2 separate regions of the Homo sapiens genome follow, and region 1 is linked to region 2. Evidence: promoter capture Hi-C in 16 types of primary human blood cells and fetal thymus (Javierre and others, 2016). All regions are on one chromosome and are shown on one strand. Each heading gives the region's core, a stretch centred on a gene start or on the middle of the fragment in contact. The rest is flanking DNA. Distances are from core to core; before and after follow the strand shown.

Evidence for each region. Contacts are between HindIII fragments. The CHiCAGO score rates a contact against its expected background, and 5 or more counts as called.
Region 1: a fragment that was not itself captured here is called in contact with the fragment with the promoter of FZD6 in region 2 in 1 of 17 cell types (activated CD4 T cells); the score reaches 6.6 in activated CD4 T cells.

The regions. Positions count from the first base shown.
Region 1 is chr8:103,400,970-103,404,299 of GRCh38, forward strand. SLC25A32 (solute carrier family 25 member 32) reads right to left here. Exons shown (of 7, transcript NM_030780.5): 4 at 2,195-2,355; 5 at 972-1,085; 6 at 547-692. Among named protein-coding and RNA genes, the nearest start is that of SLC25A32, 12 kb to the right of the region's middle. The HindIII fragment of the contact is 7,767 bases long and covers 1-3,330 here.
Region 2 is chr8:103,297,648-103,301,323 of GRCh38, forward strand. FZD6 (frizzled class receptor 6) reads left to right here and starts at 1,251. Exons shown (of 7, transcript NM_003506.4): 1 at 1,251-1,348; 2 at 2,309-2,637. The coding sequence starts at 2,461. LOC105369147 (a long non-coding RNA gene) reads right to left here and starts at 1,171. Exons shown (of 2, transcript NR_148216.1): 1 at 702-1,171. RefSeq lists enhancers at 827-1,327, 1,328-1,828, 1,682-1,731 and silencers at 932-981, 992-1,161, 1,282-1,531, 1,394-1,688. The HindIII fragment of the contact is 1,769 bases long and covers 192-1,960 here.

The DNA of each region.
Region 1 (3,330 bases), core at 296-2,795, 100 kb after region 2:
GTCACTTAGGTGCTCATTAAATATTTCTTGAATTGAATTAAATTTAAACATCCTAAATGTTCTCCTCTGTTCCTTTAGAATTAAAGGGAAATATGGTGATGTCTGCCTATAATAATTTAACTAGTCTCATACTGAAGAACAAACATCTCTTTCATATATGGAAACAAGTATTTGCAAAAGTTATGGTGCCAGTAGCAGGTGTGGAGCCTTCTTGAATGTATTAAGCTAGTCTTATGACTTCTTATATTCAATACCATTCAGATATTTTATAACACCTAAATTTTATTTTCCAAAACATTTTCACACATTTAATTTGATTCTTATAACAACCTATTAGTTAGAAAGTCTTACTTTACAAATGAAGAAATTAAGTCTCAGAGAGATTAAGGCCATGGTCACATACGTAATAACTGGGAAAGCAGGGACCACCAATCATGTTTTCACCACAGCAAACTGGCCTTTGCTATAAAACTAGTATCAACAGGATGGTCTAAGATATGCAAGGTACCTTGTCAAAGCAATTTTTGATATAGCACGTGCTCTCACCTCCATGTCTTTGTGATTACATCTATTACACCACTGTAAAACATGTGTTGATCCTGAAGACGAGCTCTTACGACTTGATATGGGTATGTTGCTGCGACAGCAAATATTTTGGATAGTGCTGCAACAGATATATATTCTACTGTGCTCTAAAATGGCAATACAAAACAGTTTTTTCTTTAGACAGGATTTCTTTAAAAATACAGAAGTAAAAATTATATACAAAAAACATTTAAATGGATCTTTAAGGGATTCTATTTTTGACATTTGTGTGGCTTCAGCCTATAAATATTTAACTATAAATTAAATCAGTGGCAGAGCCAGTACTCATCATCATAGCACTACCACCAAAGTAAGCATGACAAAAATTTCTACCTATTAAATACCCATAAAAGGAAATGATATCATTTTTACAAGAATAATCTTACCAACTGGGCTTCTGGTAATCTATTGATATGCTGGTTGTACTTCAACTTCAGCAATTCATATGCCATAAACTGAAGGGCACCATGCGATGTTCCAAACAGCCCAGGAACAAATCCCTACAAGGGAATGATTTTTAAAAAGCAAAACAACATACGTTTGAAGAACAATATATTTAAGTAAAATACTTTCTCTTCTCTCTCATTACAGCACTTTAAGCAAATTCATTTAATTTTGCACAAATCACATTTTTAAAATATGGGGTTAAAAACTTGTAATATAAAGACATGGGTAGTATTCTCTTCTACTTTATTTTTAAAGGTTTGGATGTTCACATATTAGTTTTTCTTTAAACAGTATACATATAAAGAAGACCCACACTGTCAAGACTTGAGGTGTGAGTGGGAAACTAAATTCTGGAAAGTTAAGAAACTAAAGGTAATGGTAAATCAATGAACTGAGCATAGGTATTCTGAAAGAATAAGGCAGAAAGTGACGAAAAAACATAAAAATAATATATTTATAAAATTCTTGCTTATAGGTCAGTAAAATCATATCAGCCTTAAAATGATTTTAAAAGCTATTACTCAATTCTTGAAAAACAAACTGAAATTCAATGTGTCTAATTTTGATTTTAACCTATGTATGCCTAAAAATTTCTTTATGGGGATAAGCAATAGATGGGAATAGAAGGCAGAAAAGGGGAAAATAAAAAGGAGTTATAAAATCAGAAAACAGATCTGACACTAGGAAAAAAATTTTTAAAATATTACAACAGGCAAAAGGCTGGGTTTGATTTGTTTCGTTATTTTTAAATTTATGTAAGATTTGAGATGAATAAAAAAACTCAATAAAATAAGATCCTGTTAGAACTGCTAATGTCTTCTCCAGACTACATTATCCCAGGTCCCCAAGAGACCACAGCTTCCAAGGAATGGAGTAAGGAATAAGTGACCTGGTTGTATAACTTATCAAATAGAAACTTGACAAAGTTTTAGACAGATCTCATGCCCACCAATGTCATGATGATACATCCTATGTTAATGGGGACAAACAGCTTAAAGTACAATTTCAGTATTATTAACTATATTTCAGTTTTCATTAAATTGTTTTTTGCCTAAGTGTGGCTTCTTTTTAGGACTTACTATAGGTCATTCAGAACTAAGACAACAGAGCCAACGGAAATTCAAATTTTTCAGTTATTTAAAATATATTGATAATTTGTTACCTTATATAATCCACGCACACCTTCATACTTATATATTTTCACAAGTGTATCAAACATTCCTTTATATTGTCGGTGTGGGGAGTTAACAACAGCATCATACTGTAACATAAGGCGAGTTTTTGTTACCCATAATGGGTTTGTAATGCAGAGGGTCATGGCTCCTAAAATGAGATTTCAATAAGATTATTCAGCATACAGATACTTTCGCACTTATGACAACCCAAATTAGAAACAGTACATTTATGTAAAAAAAAAAAAAAAAAAAAAGATAATGCACAGGACCATATCTGAAACTGTGAAATGTAGTTTCTGAGGCACAGTCTTAGGGTCAAAAGGTAGACATTGTTTTTGGTAGTCATAAAAAGTTCCTCATGCAGTTAGCTAGAGGTAAATTAAAAGGGAGATGGAAATGTGAAATGCTTTCTCTTTGAAGTGTAAGGATAGCAAAAATGTCTTGACTCCTAAACAACGTGGCCTGGTGCAGAGAACAGATGGTAAGCAGATACAGACCTTAGGTGTAGCACATGGTATAATCCCAGAGGGGTTGAAGATAGGCGAAAAGAACCAGGAATCTGGCACCCCAATAATCTGTGCATGTGACACATATATCTACCCCAACTTTATCACAATCTTCCTCAAATCCAAAGTAACTACTACCCCTCAAAAATTAAATAATTATGTAATACAGTAAGTCACATTTTACATCCTTTATAGAGTGACAATTTTATTAAAAAATTCATCTGGTTAAGTTTCTCATTTGCCAGGTTTCCTAAGTAGTCCTTTATTCAACAAATATTTGGTCCTGTTATGACTCAGGTTTTTGCTAGTGGCTATGTGTTCAAAAATGATTAAGTTAGGTTTTGACTAATCAACATTAAGAAATCAAGGTATTAAAGTAGGAGTTACAAAGACTTACGGCTCTTACTGTTTTTTCCTTCTGGATAGTATACATAAGTGAGGCGATTAAACAAGGCTACTAAATTGTATAATTTGAAAATTAAAATTATACTTTAAAGAAACACTATACCAAATCATTTTAAACCATTAGGGATTCATAACTTTTCTAAACTTTACCACTTTGTCATGAGTAAAATTCTTGAAATCTGCACAGAGTAATCATAATAATTTCTGCTAAG
Region 2 (3,676 bases), core at 1-2,500:
CTAGAGCCTGATCACAAAAAGATCTCATTAAGTTCGTAGAAACTGGAGAGAAATAGTCTTCCAATGTAGAAAATTAGAAATTTAGGGGAAAATATTCTTCCTACATAGAAATTTATTCTGCAATACATCAACTATCCAGCTCTTAATGATGTTAATATTTCTTCATCACTACCTGTCTCCCAACATCAGTAAGCTTTTGATAAAACTGGGGAGGAATTCCCCACTCCAAATTCGTCTTTCCCCACAGATTCCAAAACTCTTACTCTGGTTGTTCAGGGTTGTCCTTCTAGGTATGGAAATATGACATTCCTTTTCTGCAACAGGATGATTTATCTGACAAGAATAGCCTCCATCTACAAGTTACTTTGCATTTTTCAAAGTACTTCTACAAGTTCATTTGCTTCTCATACTATTCTGCCTGTTTCATAGGAGGGCCTTACAGGTTAGGTGTAAACACTTGTAACGAACTTGGCACTATTTGACTTACAGCCAGTGCTCAATTAACGTTAACCATCATTACAACTATTGTCATTCCTATATTGTGAGGAAACTATGCCCCTTAAAGATTAGGGTAATTTATCTAATATCTATGACAGAGTTGGTACCCCAAACTAGGTTGATTTCTACAGCAGTTCAACTTCCTATTAGGGTTTGTATCAATAAAACTGTGGGACCCGCCAGGGCTGGAATCCCACTGCTACCTGAGCATCCAGTTGGTGACCAGGCTCCCCGAATTAATAAAAGTATTTGTTGTTGTTTTTATAGCAGTTGTCCAGGAAGTATCTCCTTTCGAACTCAAGTCACTTGGGCAATTGGCTTTACAAAGCAAATTGGCTCCGTTTAAGGATTCTTGACTCCTGAAATCCGCAAGGAAGTGGGTTCTTTTAGAGCCAGCGCCAAGAGCTTCAAAAAATCCTTCTAAGGTGAACCCCTCCGGACCCGGATAGCGAGATGGGGCTCAGCCTTGCGCCTCGGGGGTCGTAACAGACGGCAAGGTGGAGGTGGCTTCCCGGCCCCGCAGCCGGACCTCGGCACCCCGAGCCCGTTCACCGGGGCCGGGTCCTGGCGGGCCGCGGAGTGAGGCCGGGCGGCGCAGCGCAGGCGGTGCCCGGGCGCAGGGCCAGTCCCGCCGCCGCCGCCGCCGCCGCCGCCGCCGCCGCCGCGAGCCCGGACCTGCCCGCCCGACCTGGCGGCGCAGTCTCGCGGGATCGCTCAGCTCTCGCTCCCCGTGCGGCTCTCGAGGCAGCTCCAGTCCCGGACGCAACCCCGGAGCCGTCTCAGGTCCCTGGGGGGAACGGTGGGTTAGACGGGGACGGGAAGGGACAGCGGCCTTCGACCGCCCCCCGAGGTGAGGCTTCCACGGCTGGGACTGGGCAGGGGCCGGGCGGGTGCCGGGGGAAGCGGGGAGGGCCTCGAGGGGCGAGGGGCCGCGGCTGGGATGAGGCGCGCCGGGAGCCGCAGGTGCTGGGGAGGCAACGGCGGGACGGCCCGCACCTGAGTTTCCTCGGAAGCGGGAACCGGCTCTGAAAGGCGATGCCGGGGCCCCGCGGCGCCGCGCAGGCCAGGAACGCTGCTGTCTGGCTCTAGGCCTGGGGCAGGTTCCCGGGTGTGGGGCGCTGGCGGACCGGGCATCAGTGTGTGTTGGGGCGCGGGTAATTCGTAATCCGGGGCCTACAGCCTTCCTCCCGCAAGGGGACTGCCTTCGCCCTTCCCCCGGGACAGATTTGCGCACTTTCCTTTCGACGGCAGCACTACACCCTCCTAGCCAGTGAAAACTGCAATGTTGCTCCTCCACTGGAGGAATCCTAAAAGTCTCCCTCTAGTTGGCCTTACGAAAATCGAGAAAACTACATACCCAGAAGACTGCCACAAAAACTGACTCTTCAGAGTCTTTTACAAGTTTAAGAACTCTTTGGGTCTTAAGGAATTTCCCAGGGCCTTAGTTTTCTTGTACTTAATAAGCTTTCCAACAGGGGCCCTTAGATTGTATGCTTATATTAATCCTTTATAATTTACTCCGAATCACCAGCTTTCCTTTTTTCCTCCATCTTACTCTTGCCATTCCCTCTTTTTAACCCTGTCTTCCATACAGCACCAACCTCCTAGCATCGGTTTCCTAGAGGTGCAGCTTCCTTAGCAAATGATATATTCCATGCTAAGGCAGGTGGAAGAGTATCTCGTTAGGACAGAATTTTCCGTTGTTTTTCCAGTGTTTGTTACCTGGGGTGAAAATCTTAACTCTGCACTTTGACTCCACATTTGAGTTTATGACAAATGTTGCTGATACACCCTCCTTTTGTTTTTACAGTAATTGACCCAGGACTCATTTTCAGGAAAGCCTGAAAATGAGTAAAATAGTGAAATGAGGAATTTGAACATTTTATCTTTGGATGGGGATCTTCTGAGGATGCAAAGAGTGATTCATCCAAGCCATGTGGTAAAATCAGGAATTTGAAGAAAATGGAAATGTTTACATTTTTGTTGACGTGTATTTTTCTACCCCTCCTAAGAGGGCACAGTCTCTTCACCTGTGAACCAATTACTGTTCCCAGATGTATGAAAATGGCCTACAACATGACGTTTTTCCCTAATCTGATGGGTCATTATGACCAGAGTATTGCCGCGGTGGAAATGGAGGTGAGTAGTGCTTCATACGTTTATTGAATAGTAGTTTATGCTCTGTTCTAGAATAAACTAGTAAAAATAAGTCTATTTTTAAACAGAGCCGATTTCTTCAAGTTGTGTACAAGTTGTGTTTTGAAAAGTCCTTTTGAAAATTAAATCCCTCTACTGACTTATGTTTTGTGTACCTTTGCGGCCCTGTTTAGTAGATTCGTTTGAATAGGGTTCATTTTATATAATGAAGTATGGTTACACATGATTTCTAAATACCTTGTACCTAGAAAATATTTTGCTTTCCTGAATCAAGTATGATAGTTCTTCTAGAAATGCGAATTCTGAATATTTTTCTACTTCACTGAACATGTAATATTTATTGCCTGGACTAAAACTGAAGAAATTTACAAGTTTTTATAAGTAGTTGTAATATTCACTTGGTACAGTTTTTCTGAAATAAATAAATTATCAGAATATTTTGTTGCTGTAGACTGTATTTTAAGGCTATCACAAAGTCACTAAAAAGTGACTTTGTTTTCTAAGCATAGCACTTATATGTTCTTTATAAGATACTTGTTAAAAGAAACCACTTGGGAGGAGTACAGTGACACTAAAGATTGCCTTAGGTGCCTTAGTTACCTGTCTCTGGTTTAGAGATATGCAAATTACTAGGGAGTGTGAGAAGAAAGCTACCTGTACAGACAGGAACCTGCCTTCCCATACAGATTTGTTAGGTTGTTAAGTCTCCTGAAGGAAACTAGACACATGCATTGTTTTTGTAGTTTTTCTCCAGAAAAACAGAATAGTAAAGGCTTTTTTCCCTCAGATTGTTGCTAAGAGAGGAAATCCCTACAAATTTAATATATATACTATTTTTAAAATTGATTAGATTTGATTTTGCAGCTTTGAAAGTTTTCTATTGTTGTTCAGTTGAATAGTTGTCTGACTGCCTCATTGTGGACTCATGTCTGGAATAGGAAAGCTTATAAATACTAAGTAGATGTTATTTAAAAGGATAGTACAGATTATATTATTGTTATCTTTCAGTGGTTTTTTTCAA